Regions from separate parts of the Homo sapiens genome. Here regions 2, 3, 4 and 5 are each linked to region 1. The links are contacts of gene promoters, found by promoter capture Hi-C in human tissues and cell types (Jung and others, 2019). All regions are on one chromosome and are shown on one strand. The core of a region is centred on a gene start or on the middle of the fragment in contact, and the rest is flanking DNA. Distances in the headings are between cores, read along the strand shown.

Region 1 (2,700 bases), core at 97-2,596:
ATGTGGTCCTTTTGAAAGGACTCACACCCGGCCCCCAGAGAATCTGACTTAATTGGCCTGGGTTGAGTATATTGTTGGAGAGTGTCAAAACACTCCCCAGGTGATTCTGACATTAGCCGGGGCCCGGAACCACCCCCGACCTACTGAATCTGGGACTCCAGGAGAGGCCCAGCCACTAGTGGTTTAACAAGCCCCTTGGGTCAAGTTTGAAAACCAGGGGTCTGGGCTGCTAAGTGGCGGCATGGGAATGGAAGGTTCTGGAAGGTGAGCAGTGAGGTTGGGGCGCAGGCCTGGGAAGGGAGAGGCTCTTCAACAGCCATCCCCCCCAACCTTGTCTCAGCCTAGGGCAATGGGCAGGCTCTCCCATCAGAGCCTGGCCTGAGCCCTCAGAGGCAGGACCTCCTTGAGGGATGTGGAGGTGTGAAGACCAGTTCTGAGACCACAGAGGCTCCCTTCAAGCCTCAGTCTCTGACCCTGCGGGCATTATTTCCATGACTTCCAGTGTTGTGGCTCCTTATCCTTTCCCCACAGGCTCGCCCCCCAACTGAGGGCTGGCTTTTTTATTTTTTTGAGACGGAGTTTCGCTGGTTGCCCAGGTTGGAGTGCAATGGGGCGATCTCAGCTCACTGCAACCTCTGCCTCCCAGGTTCAAGCGATTCTCTCGCCTCAGCCTGCCAAGTAGCTGGGATTATAGGGACCCACCACCACACCTGGCTGTTTTTGTTGTTGTTGTTTTGGTATTTTTAGTACAGACGGGGATTCGCCGTGTTGGCCAGGCTGGTCTCGAACTCCTGACCTTAGGTGATCCATCCGCCTTGGCCTCCCAAAGTGCTCAGATTACAGGCGTGAGCCAGCACGCCCGGCCGAGGGCTGGCTTTTAAAACACCGAAAACCCAGACAGGAACGGTGTCCATCTCCAACCCCAGACGGAAACTGTGCCCGCACCCACAAGAAAAGCAGTCCTTTGCCCAGAGCAACCAAACCCTGAACCCCACTCTCGATTCCCCTCTGCCCCCCAACTCTTCCATCCCAGCGGATGGGAAACAGCGAGTCCAGCCGCCTCCCCACCTCGGGACCCCCCTCCCGGGCCAACTGCGCAGGGCACGACCCCGTCGTGGTGCCCCGCGCGCTCGACCCCCAGGGGTTGAGGTGAGGAGGGATCCCCGGTGTCCCGGGAAGCGCGGCGGCTTCTGCGGGTTGCGGGCGGACCCCCCTCCCCGTGGGGAGGGGCTGCGGCCGCGCGGAGTCGCCGCGGGTCGGAGGCTCCTCCCCGGGGTGGCCGCGCAGGAAGCGGGGCGGGTGGGGGCGGTGCGGGGCGCGCACGGGGCCGGGGCGGCGGGGGAGGCGCGGGCCTGGGCGGCCAGCCCCGGCGCACAGCCGCGGCCGGGGCGCGCGGCGCGGGGCGGAAAAGCCTGTTTACACAGACTGCACACCGCCTGGGGAATAATGCAGTAAAGGAAGTGAGCCGGCTCGGCCTGACTGCTCCAACTTCCTGCTCTCACACACACCAGAGGGGAAAAAAAAAGAGGAGCGAGAGAAAGAAAAAAAGGGGGAAAAATCAGGATCTCATTACAAGAGCCACAGACCGTCTGCAGACGCCTGTCAGCATGGAAAGTCGGGGGCTTTCGCCCGGGTCCTCCTAGAAATTCCCCCCGAAGAAGACTCCCCCACATCTGGGTAGGTAACAGGGCTTCTGCCTGTTGCTCGGACACTTAAAAAGTTTGTTTGGGGGTGTTTTCTTTTTTTCTTTCTTTTCTTGGGCGCGGTGGGGGTGGGGCGGGGGGCGCCGCGGGGTGGGCTGCGGGCCGGGGTGGGGGTGGCGGTGCGTCCGCGCGGGAGGGCCGGCCGCGGGGAGGGGGCGCCGCGGATGCTCCTGCGCCCGCGTCGCTGCCACCGCCGTCGCCCGAGCTCGCGCCGGGCCCGGGGCTGCGGGGACCCTGCGCCCGCGGCTCCCCTCCCTGGGGCTGCGCTGCGACCCCAGAGGAAGGGGCGCCGGGCGTGCAACCCTGGGAGCTCGCCCAGGGCCCCGCTGCAGGCAGCGCGGGGAGCGGGGGACGGCGAGACTTCGGGTCCCTGGGAAGAACCGTGGCAGGAGCAGGCTGAGTGCCTGGAGGCTGGACCACCGCCGACCTTCCAGCTGGGACCGCAGTCAGGCTCCCCTCGAGTGGGCAAAGTGCACTGGTGCTCGGATCCAGGGAGGAAGACAGGGATGGAGAGGGCGGTGGAGGACATGGGTCGCGAAGGTGTGGGGCTGGGGGCTGCGTCCACTCTCGCTTGGCAGGTGACCCCCGCCCAGGTCACCGCCCCAGGCGCACGCCCCATCGGACATTTAAAAGCCGGTGGTCTCTATTGGGCATGGTTTTGGAGAAGGACCAGGCAAGAAATGATCTTGGGGCCCCTTCCACTCCCCATCCCTGTTTACCTTCGAACTCAACGTTGGCCTGTGACGCTACTGTAACTTTTGGGGAGGCGGGATTAAGATTTTGGAGTAGTTAAAAAGCAAAAATAAAAGGTCTTGGTTTTGTTATCTTTTCTGAACCGAATCATCCTAGGGACAAGCTGCAGTTAGGCGGCGGGTGGAGGTGGAAGCAAGAAATGTTATTTCAGAAACTGCAAAAGGGGCTTTTTAGAAAGAAAAAAAAACGAGTGTCGGGAGAGTTTCTGGCTTGTCTGGAAACGGCAAGACTAATTGCCATGCGC
Region 2 (2,700 bases), core at 113-2,612, 260 kb after region 1:
ATGGGCTGTCTTGCATCTTAAATTTTAAGTGGTATAATTTTCTATGCATTATTCTGCAACATTATGTTTTGAGGTTTGTCCATGTTGATAGATCTCTCTTGTGTGTTTGTCTATTTATTGTTTTTCTGGAGTCCATATTATGAATACATTGATTTCAATGTTAAGATTAAGTTTGGCCAAAGATGACTGAAAAAAACAAAATAACAGTGTTGATAAGAAAATTTTCTCTCTCTTGTGTGTATGTCTAAAGATGGTTTTCTTTTCTTTGTTTTTTTTTTTTTTTTTTTTTTTTTTTTTTTTTGAGCTGGAGTCTAGCTCTGTCGCTCAGGCTGGAGTGCAGTGGTGCGATCTCAGATCTCGGCTCACTGCAACCTCCGCCTCCCAGGTTAAAGTGATTCTCCTGCCTCAGCCTCCCAAGTAGCTGGGATTACAGGCATTTGCCACCACACCTGGCTAATTTTTGTATTTTTAGTAGAGACGGGGTTTCTCCATGTTGGCCGGGCTGGTCCTGAACTTCTGGCCTCAAGTGATCTGTCCGCTTCAGGCTCCCGAAGTGGTGGGATTACAGGTGTGAGCCACCATGCCTGGCCTAAAGATGGTTTTCCAGGGATGGTATGGAGTGTCCTAAGTTTAGGGACCCTAGCTTCCTCAATCTTGTTACTCCACTGTGCATAGGCCTTTATGTACAAAGTCACCTCAAAATTCAAGGTGGTCATTCCACCTCTAGTGAACACATCTGCATTACTACAGTACAAGGGAGAAAGGGAAGAAGCCTCATTCCCCCATTTTGCTTACACCAATTGGTGAAAACTTAATCACATTATCAGCTATAATTATCAGCTATAAAGGAGAGTGGGAAGAGGAATTTTCATTCTAAGTGACCACATGCCTCAAATTTGATTGTTCTATTACTGATGAAGAAGGGGAAGGGGAAGTTTAAGAAACAAGTCTCTACCACAATGGATGGACATCTAGGTAATTTCCAAATTTCTGCTTTTTTTTTTTTTTTTTTCCGAGACAGAGTCATGCTCTATGTGGCCAGGCTGGAGTGCAATGATGCGATCTTGGCTCACTGCAACCTCCGCCTCCCAGGTTCACGCCATTCTCCTGCCTCAGCCTCCTGAGTAACTGGGATTACAGGCGCCTGCCACCACGCCCGGCTAATTTTTGTATTTTTAGTACAGACAGGGTTTCACCATGTTGGTCAGGCTTGTCTCAAACTTCTGACCTCGTGATCCATTTGCCTCGGCCTCCCAAAGTGCTGGGATTACAGGTGTGAGCCATTGCGTCCCACCAAATTTCTGCTATTATAAGCAATGCTGTGACAAACATTCATACATATGTCTTCTTGTGTTCACGTAGGACAGTTTCTCTAGCAGAATATGTTTCTGGTAATTCATGTTTTTAACTGTGCCAGATATTGTAGATATTGTCAATTGTCAATTGCTCTCCAAAATGGGTTGTTCCTTTTTTTTTCTTTTTTTTTTGAGACAGGGTCTCCCTCTGTCACCCAGGCTGGAGTGCAGTGGTGTGATTATGGCTCACTGCAGCCTCGACTTCCTAGTCTCAAGTGATCCTCCTGCCTCAACTTGTTGTGTTGCTGGGACCACAGGCATGTACTACCATGCCTGGCTAATGTTTTTTGTTTTTTGTTTTTTGTTTTTTTTTGTAGAGATGAGGTCTCACTTTGTTGCCCAGGCTGGTGTACCAATTTTTACTCCAGCCGTATAAAAGTTCTTGTTTTCCCATATATTCCTAACACTTGGTATTAGAGTACTTTTTTTTAAGTAAGTTAAATTTTTTTTTACAATGTGATGGGATCGTGGGGTGGTGACGTTGGCAAAGGCAGTTTTGGTAGAGTGGTGGAAACTGATGCCAGAGTGCCTGGGTTGAAAGAGAGTGGGAGAAGGGGAAATGAAACTAGTGGGGTATCAGCTACCCTTTTACTAACCTTAGCCATAGAGGGAAGTGAGAGGTAAACCATTAGATGGAATTGGTGGAGCATTTGTGTTACGATTAGAATCCTGGGCTGCTGGGAGTAAGGCAGTAGAGAATGTACCAGAGAAAGAGAGAAAAAGGAATTAATAACTGGAGCAAATGTCTGTGGGGTTTACAATTTCAGAGGTGGGGCATTTCCAGGTGATGATGAAATGGACAGAGTGTGAGAGTTGCTAGCTGTTATGGAACAATAAAGAAGCTCCTTGAGCCCAAGATGCTTTTCATTTATTTATTTATTTATTTTTTAAAACACAAGGCCTAGTTCTCTACTGGAGTGCAGTGGTGCGATCAGAGCTTACTGCAGCCTCAAACTCCTGGGTTCAAGTGATCCCCCCACTTCAGCCTCCAGACTAGCAAGGACTATAGGTGCATGCTGCCATGCCTGGCTAATGATTTTATTTTTTGTAGAAATGGAGTCTCACTTTGTTGCCCAGGCTGGTCTCAAACTCCTGGGATGAAGTCATCCTCTCCCCTTGCCCTCCCAAAGTGTTGGGATTATAGGTATGAGCCACCACACCTGGCCCCAAGATGCTTTGAAGCTTCAAGGGAGTTAAGTAGAATTACTCATTCAACAAATATTTTCAAGCACCTCCTAAGTGTCAGGCATTGTTCTAGAAACTGGAGTTACATGTTGAGTAGAAGAGATAAACACCATTCTCTGTAACAAGAACTGACAGCAAATGTGTAAACAAACAAGAGAAC
Region 3 (2,700 bases), core at 117-2,616, 370 kb after region 1:
AGGCATGTGCCAACATGCCCGGCTAATTTTTGTACTCTTAGTGGAAATGGGGTTTCACCATGTTGGCCAGGCTGGTTTTGAACTCCTGACCTCAAGTGATCTGCCTGCCTCGGCCTCCCAAAGTGCTGGGATTACAGGTGTGAGCCACTGCGCCTGACCACAAGTTCTTTTTGATATCTCCAATTCTAACACTAAAAGGTTTCTCCTCACCTTCTCCATTTTTGTATTTTCCTTCTCCCATATTGAGCATTCTGGTTCGTAACAACATCAATGTAATTACTCATTTGTTTTATCCTGGCAAATTAACAAATTACTTTCAAAATTATTAAACCAATACCACTATTAAAAACCTACTAAGTAAATTAAGGATTTCTTTGCAGTTCATTTTGTCTCTAGAAAATGTCATACATCAGAGAACTGTGTCCAAATTTACTTGAATTCTATTTTTAATTTTTTTTTCAATTTGATACATACTTGTGACCCTTTTTTTGTATTTGCATTCTTTTTTTTTTTTTTTTTTAAGACAGTCTCCCTCTGTCACCTAGGCTGGAGTGCAGTGACGTTATCTCAGCTCACTGGAACCTCTGCCTCCGAGGTTCAAGTGATTCTCCTGCCTCAGCCTCTCAAGTAGCTGGGACTACAGGCATGTGCCACCACACCTGGCTAATTTTTGTATTTTTTTTAGTAGAGATGGGGTTTTGCCATGTTGGCCAGGCTGGTCTCGGAACTCCTGACCTCAAACGATCTGCCCACCTTGGCTTCCCAAAGTGCTGGGATTACAGGTGTGAGCCACTATGCCCTGCCTGTATTCTGTTTATATAAAATTTCCTTTTTTCCCCATCCTTTTATTTTTTTATACTCTTCATCTTTTTACATTTTATTTTAAACATTTACATAGTTTCAAAAACTACTTCTCCTATGACCTGCTGGGTGTAGAGGGAAGCAAGTAATAATTAAAATATCTCTGTGTCATCATGTATAAATTGAAAATTTGATAAAGTTTTTTCTAATACATAAATGAATTACTTAGCATAATAATCTTGAACATGTTTTGGGCTGAAAATATTTGGTTTAGAAATATGTTTCAAAATGTAAATAGAATTTTTGTGTCAGGTTTTAAGAAACTAGCCCATGATTCTCACATAGTAACTGTATTATTTCCTTTAGTGGAGGATTAGAGTTTTTTTTTAAACTCATGGAGTTCCTAATACCTCGTTCTCTAATTGTCATCCATAAATCTTTGAAGACCAAATGAGTTTTGATCATAGACCACTTAAAGATATTGATGCAAGACTTGAGTTCAGATGTAAATGGAATTAGTTATTATTTCCTTGCAATATCTCTGGGTTTCCTTGAATTTTTTCTTGGCTTTATTGAATTGCCATCCTAGCACAGCTGATCACTTTGTTCCCCTACCTTGTCTTTCTTTAGCATGCTGTTGCCAGACTGATGTTCCCTACATTAGCATTCTTATTCAATAATGGTTGCCTGTTGATGTCCATGACATAAATATGATGCATCTGTATTTGGCATTCAGAATTTTTTTGCAGTCTCATCCTTCTTATCTCCAACGATTATAATCAGGAAAGCTTAATTAGCATTTATAATATCCTTGGTATTGAGAGAATGATGCACTATTTTCTGCTCTGCATTGCTATCTCCATGCAGATGTTTCCTTACCCTTTGCCACTGCAGATGCCTTCTATTCTTCAATGGTGTATGTTAACATCTTTTCACGAATCAATTACTATCACATGGTGGCTCATGTGCATTAGCACAAATAATTAAAACTCAGTAAAAGGGGTTTATTGTAAGGTTACTATAGCTACCCTCGCATATCTCCAAGGACCAAAATACTACCAGGTCTCTTAAGCACCAGACCTGAAAATCAAGAATCAGTGCTACAGTTTCCATCTCCCTGGGCTAGTATAGTTGTATATAGTTGTATCCTTTTTTCCCCTCATCCACATTCCTGTCTTTACTGAACCACCATGATGGTCAGTCCCAATTGTATACCAGTATCAACAACTGGCAAGTTCATGTTTTAGTTCAAAATCTTGAGACAGGCTCTGATTTCATCAGCCACAGCTGGAAGATAGTGGAGGTCTTCGTGTGTTACCCAGAGCTCTTAAAGGGACCTTGGATGAAACAGTTTTTCTAGAAGGGGTGTTGAGGACAGAGTTTGACAGCTTATTGGTATTGGTATCAGGACTTGCCATCTGTACTTCTGTGAAAAGGTAAAGTCAACAGAAGTAGGTTGGATTCTATCAATCCTCAGGATGACTTTATTCAAGATGAGATAGAAAATCAAATATTTTTATAATTTGGAATTTCTTCTGTCCTGAGGTATACTGTGGCAAATAAAAGAGGATTTGATAAAACTGCATTATAGTAGATTTATATGAATTTTTATCTATTAATGAAAAAAATGACATGACAGAGGAAGCAGTAGCTTTATGAATAGTTACTCCTTAGTATTTAAAAAATATTTCCTCTCTTGGATACATACTTAATTGTTATGACAGTCGTCTTCTTCTTCAGTTTTGCAGACTCCAACTGTTAGCAAAGATATTTCTACCAAGGGTCCGGAAAAGTTAAAACAATCTGGAAGCACTGATTGTTTTACAGGTAATTAAAATTGGGATAACTGGTATTTCCAAAAAATTTGGAAGATAGTTTTTAATCTCACCTTTTTGGTAA
Region 4 (2,700 bases), core at 135-2,634, 450 kb before region 1:
AGCACACAAGATCTTTCATATTCTTAAGAAAATGGATCAGGCAGGTATAGCAAACACTCCAAGAAATACAAATCTTTTCCATAGTTTCTGATCTAGTTTTCTTATTTACTAAAAATAGCAACTTCAGGAACATAACTGCATTTGTTCTTTAACAGTTCTTAAGATACTAGACACATCCTCACATTCTTAAAGAAGCAGCTTTTTGTTTTAATGATTTTCTCTATTGTTTTTCTGTTTTTCTTTTTCATTGGTTTCTGCTTTTATCTTTATTATTTACTTTCTTCTGCTTACTTTGTGTTTAATGTGCTCTTCTTTTACTAGTTTCTTAAAGGGAAAACTTAGATCATTGATTTGACTTTTTAAAAATAATTCACTAAGCAGTGAATTTTACTTTTAAGCTCTGTTGGACTTGAAGATCATTGATTTGAGATGTTTCTTTTTCCCTAGGTACTTCTTCAGTTGCATCCCCCCGAAGTTTGATACGCTGTGTTTTCATTTCCATTCAATTTCAAAATACTCCTGATTTCCTTTTGATTTCTTCTTTGAATAACTGGAATAAAAAGTGTGTTTACTCCAGTTATTTGGGGATTTCCCAGATACCTTCCTGTTATTGATTTCTAACTTAATTTCATTGTGGTCAAAGAACATATTTTGTATGATATGAATCCTTTTACATTTATCAATACTTGTTTTATGACTCAGTATATGTTCTGTCTTGATAATGCACCTTGTATCCTTGAAAAAGTATTGAAATATCCAGCTATAATTATCAACTTATTTTATTTCTCCCTTCAGGTTTTGCTTCATGTATTTTGAAGCCCTGTTGTTGGGTACATAAACATGGAGGATTGTTGCTTTTTGTTTTTTGAGATGAAGTCTCACTCTTGTCCCCCAGGCTGGAGGGCAGTAGCGCGATCTTGGCTCACTGCAACCTCCACCTCCTGGGTTCAAGTGATTCTCATGCCTCAGCCTCCCAGGTAGTTGGGATTACAGGCTCCTGCCACCACGCCCGGCTAATTTTTGCATTTTTAGTAGAGATGGGGTTTCACTATCTTGGCCAGGCTGGTCTTCAACTCCTGACCTCAGGTGATCCACCTGCCTCAGCCTCCCAAAGTGCTGGGATTACAGGCCTGAGCCACCGTGCCCCGCCAACATGGAGGATTGTTATATCCTCTTGATGAAGTGACTGTTTTATCAGTGTATGTCCCTTTTTATCCTTGGCAATATTCTTTGATCTAAAATCTACTTTGATAGTAATATAGCCACTCGAGCTTTCTTTTAAAGTATTAGTAGGGTATATCTTTTTTTATCCTTTTACTTTTAACTTAGCTATATCTTTATATTTAAAGTGAGCTTCTTATAGGCAGCATACCTAATCTTTTTCAAAAATTTTGTCCAATATTATAATCTATGCCTTTAATGGGGATATTTACACCTTTTACATTTAATGTGATTGATGATATTTACCACTTCACATATAGTATAAGAAACTAAGAAGAGTATACTCTCATTTCCTCCCCTCAACCTTTGCACTGTTGTCATCCATATTACCTCTATGTATATGTTATAAGCTCCACAACACACTGTTAATACCTTGGCTTTAAAAAGCCAACTAATTATCTTTAAAGAGATTTTAGAAATATAAAAAGGCATTTCACATGTATTCACCTACTTTTCCTTTTTGATGATCTTCATTCCTTTTTGTAGGTCCAGATATCCATCTGGTATCATTTTTCTTCTGTCTGAAGGATTTCCTTCAATGCAAATCTGCTGGTGAAAAACTTTTTTTTTTTTTTTTTTGGCTTCTTTATGTCTGAAAAAGTCTTGACTTCATCTTCATTTTTGTAAAATATTTTTTGCTGGGTATAGAATTCTAAGTTGACTTCTTTTTTTCTTTCGGCACTTTAAAAGTTTCTGCCTCCGCTGTCTTCAGGCTTACGTTGTTTCCAACAAAAAGCTTTTGTCATTCTTAGATTTGTTCCTCTGTACGTAATGTGCCATTTTTTTCTCTGGCTGCTTTTAAGGTTTTCTTTTTACCATTGCTTTTTAAACAATTTGATTGTTATGTGTTTTGGAGTAGATTTCTTCTTGTTTCTTGTGTTTAAGGTTTGTTGCACTTCTTGGATCCATGGATTTATAGTTATTATAAAATTTAGAAAAATTTCAACCATTATTTCTTAAAAATTTTTGTTCCCCTCCTCTCCCTTCTTTCCTTTGTTGGTTCCAACTACATGTACCAAATTGCCTGAAGCTGTCCCAGAGCTCACTAATGCTATATTTATTTCTTTTTCTGGCTTTTTTTTCTCCCTGTGTTTCATATTGGGTCATTTCTATTGCTACGTATTAAACGTCACTAATCTTTTCTTCTACAATGTCTAGTCTACTAATCCTGTTTGGTATGTATTTTTCATCTCAGGCATCAGAATCTTCAAAAATGGTCATTCAACTTTTTTTTGCTATCTTTTCCTTGCCTCTGCTTAATGTGCTCCATCTTTCTTCCACCTTTTGAACATAAGAAATACAGTGATAATAACTGTTTTAAAGTCCTCAGCTACTAACTGTATCATTTGTGTCATTTCTGTGTCTGTTTCTATTGATTTGTTTTTCTTTTTATTATGAGTTGTATTCTCTGTTTCTTTGCAGGTCTTGATTAGCTGCTAGGTATCATGAATTTTACCTTGTTGGGGGCTGAATATTTTT
Region 5 (2,700 bases), core at 183-2,682, 340 kb before region 1:
ACAAGTCACAAAATAAGAATTATTTGTGGCTGGTTGCGGTGGGTCACTCCTGTAATCCCAGCACTTTGGGAAGCCGAGGCAGGCAGATTGCTTGAGCTCAGGAGTTCAAGACCAGCCTGGACAACATGGCGAAAACCTGTCTCTACCAAAAATACAAACAATTAGCTGGGCATGGTGGTGCACACCTGTGGTTCCAGCTACTTGGGAGGCAGAGATGGGGGGATCACTAGAGCCCGGGAGGTGGAGGTTGCAGTGAGCCAAGATTGAGCCATTGCATTTCAGCCTAGGTGAGAGAGAGACCCCGTCTCAAAAAAACGGGGTCTCAAAAAAAGAAAAAAAGAAAAATAAAGAAAAAAGAATTATTTGGTCCAAAATGTCAATAATATCAAGGTTGAAAACTCTGATCTAGCCCAATCCCTACAGTGTATAAAGGAAGAAAATAAGATCCAAGACAATTAAATGACTTTTTCTTTTATTTTAGTAGGCAATACATTCAAAAGTTCCAAAAATAGAACATTAAAAGGGTATGTAGGATTTGAACAGATATTTCTCCAAAGAAGATATACAAATGGCCAATGAGCAAATGAAAAGATTCTCAGCATCATTAGTCATTAGGAAAATGCAAATCAAAACCACAATGAGATACTGCTTTATAGCCACTAGCATGGCTATAATTAAAACAACAACAAAAACGGAAAATAACAAATTGTTGGTGAGAACGTGGAGAAATTGGAACCTTCATACATTGCCGGTGGGAATATAAAATGGCGCAGCTGCTGTGGAAAAGTTTGGCAGTTCCTCAAAAAAAGTTCTGTGTAAAATTATGATATGACCCAGCAATTCCACACCCCTAGGTATATGTCCAAAGAAATTGAAAACAGGTATTCAAACAAATACTTGTACACAAATGCTCATAGCAGCAAAATTCACAGTAGCCAAAAGGTGGAAACAACCCAAATGTCCATTAACAGGTGCAGGGATAAACAAAATGTGGTATATACATACAGTGGAATCATACTCATACATTAAAAGGAATGAAGTACTACTACTACAACAAGCTACAATGTGGGTGAAGCTCAGAGACATTACACTTAGTGAAAGCCAGATATAAAAGGTCACATGTTGTTTCTATTTATATGAAATATCCAAAACAGGTAAATTTATAGAGATAGAAAGCAGACTGAGGGTTGCCATGGGCTAGGAGAGAAGGAAGATAGGGAGGAACTGCTTAATGACTACAGAGTTTTCTTTTAAAGTTGTGAAAATGGGCTGGGCACAGTGGCTCATGCCTGAAATCCCAGCACTCTGGGAGGCCGAGGCAGGCAGATCACTTGGGGTCGGGAGTTCAAGACCAGCCTGGCCAACATGGTGAAACCCCGTCTGTACTAAAAATACAAAAATTAGCTGGGTGTAGTGGCATGTGCCTATAATCCCAGCTACTCAGGAGGCTGAACCAGGAGAATCGCTTGAACCCAGGAGACGGAGGTTAGCAGTGAGCCGAGGCTGCACCACTGCACTCCAAACTGGGTGACAGGGCGAGACTCCATCCCAAAACAAACAAACAAATAAATGAACTTGCAAAAATGTTTTGGAATTATATAGAGGTGGTGGTTGCAATAACATTGTGAATGTACTATATGCCACTCAATTGTATACTTTGAAATGGTTAATATGTGAATTTCATAATTAAAAGTTTTTAAAAAATGCATAGTGAAACATCTCATCATTGTCTGCCCTCAGTGTAGTTCCCACTACACCCATAGGCAACCCGTGTTCTTAGTATCTTAGGAGCCCTCCAGTATACTTATGCACATACACAGAAATGGATAGCTTGTTATCCCCTTCTTTCTCTTTTTATACAGAGGCAGCATATTTTGCAAATTATTCGGTGCCTTGTCTTTCTCAGCAATTTATCATGGAGATCTTTCTGTGGCCTTGACACTCTTGAACATTGCAGGCCACTTTGTTCCTCAATGTGGTTTGTCTGATATTTCCTGATTACTAGATTCAGGTTATGTGGCTTTGGTAAGAATATCACAGAATGCATCTTTTCTTTGCATCTTATCATGTGGCACCTGATTTTGATTTTCCAGTTGCTAACGATAGTTGTTTGATCACTGGATTGTAATAAGATGGTGTCTACCAGTTACTATAGTGAAGAAGACTGAAAATAGCCAATGTTCGAAGGGATCCTGATTCCTTTAGTGGGAAGCAGTTTCTAGAAACTAAAACCTGAGCATTAAGTATGCTCATTATTATAGGTTGATTCCTTTGATTAGTGCCCTTGTAACAAATTTCCCTTCCTGCCATTGTCCCCTCCCCTGCATTTCTTCTTCATTCCATTCAGGTTCTGACACCGTGTGCCAGGTCATTCTGCATGGACATCCTCCTTGCTTCCTTTAGGCTCTGACACTCCACAGCAGGCCACCCTCTTCCCCGCAGTGTGGACACCCTCTTAACCCCACTCAGGCTCCAACACTCCCTGTCAGGCCACCCTCTGGGGATGCTTCATCCTACTTGGGCTCCAATGGCTGGTGCTGGGCTGCCCCTCGCCATGCGTGATCACCATCCTCACCTCCTCAGGCACCAACTTCCCATGTTTGCCTGCCCTCCTATGTAGATACCTTCCTCCTCCTGCTCAGGCTCTGACACCCCACACTGGCTGCTCTCTTATGTGGATGTTCTCCTCACTCCATTCAG

The links. The method cuts DNA at HindIII sites, captures the fragments that hold promoters and counts their contacts. A contact is called where the count stands out against the background at its distance.
Region 2: a fragment that was not itself captured here is called in contact with the fragment with the promoter of ELK3 in region 1 in 1 of the 25 tissues and cell types used here (mesenchymal stem cells).
Region 3: a contact is called between a fragment that was not itself captured here and the fragment with the promoter of ELK3 in region 1, in 1 of the 25 tissues and cell types used here (mesendoderm cells).
Region 4: a contact is called between a fragment that was not itself captured here and the fragment with the promoter of ELK3 in region 1, in 1 of the 25 tissues and cell types used here (heart left ventricle).
Region 5: a fragment that was not itself captured here is called in contact with the fragment with the promoter of ELK3 in region 1 in 1 of the 25 tissues and cell types used here (adrenal gland).

What each region holds. Positions count from the first base shown.
Region 1 is chr12:96,193,029-96,195,728 of GRCh38, forward strand. It overlaps ELK3 (ETS transcription factor ELK3), which reads left to right and starts at 1,347. Exons shown (of 5, transcript NM_005230.4): 1 at 1,347-1,677. RefSeq lists a silencer at 1,172-1,311 and an enhancer at 2,643-2,700. The HindIII fragment of the contact is 13,150 bases long and covers 1-2,700 here.
Region 2 is chr12:96,454,857-96,457,556 of GRCh38, forward strand. No RefSeq gene overlaps it. Among named protein-coding and RNA genes, the nearest start is that of CFAP54, 33 kb to the right of the region's middle. The HindIII fragment of the contact is 6,305 bases long and covers 1-2,700 here.
Region 3 is chr12:96,561,927-96,564,626 of GRCh38, forward strand. It overlaps CFAP54 (cilia and flagella associated protein 54), which reads left to right. Exons shown (of 68, transcript NM_001306084.2): 18 at 2,542-2,628. Among named protein-coding and RNA genes, the nearest start is that of CFAP54, 74 kb to the left of the region's middle. The HindIII fragment of the contact is 4,172 bases long and covers 1-2,700 here.
Region 4 is chr12:95,743,052-95,745,751 of GRCh38, forward strand. All of the region lies in intron 2 of NTN4 (netrin 4), which reads right to left. Among named protein-coding and RNA genes, the nearest start is that of NTN4, 46 kb to the right of the region's middle. The HindIII fragment of the contact is 7,840 bases long and covers 1-2,700 here.
Region 5 is chr12:95,849,818-95,852,517 of GRCh38, forward strand. All of the region lies in intron 1 of SNRPF-DT (SNRPF divergent transcript), which reads right to left. Among named protein-coding and RNA genes, the nearest start is that of SNRPF-DT, 7.7 kb to the right of the region's middle. RefSeq lists enhancers at 274-418, 1,197-1,341 and cis regulatory regions at 346, 1,269. The HindIII fragment of the contact is 5,987 bases long and covers 1-2,700 here.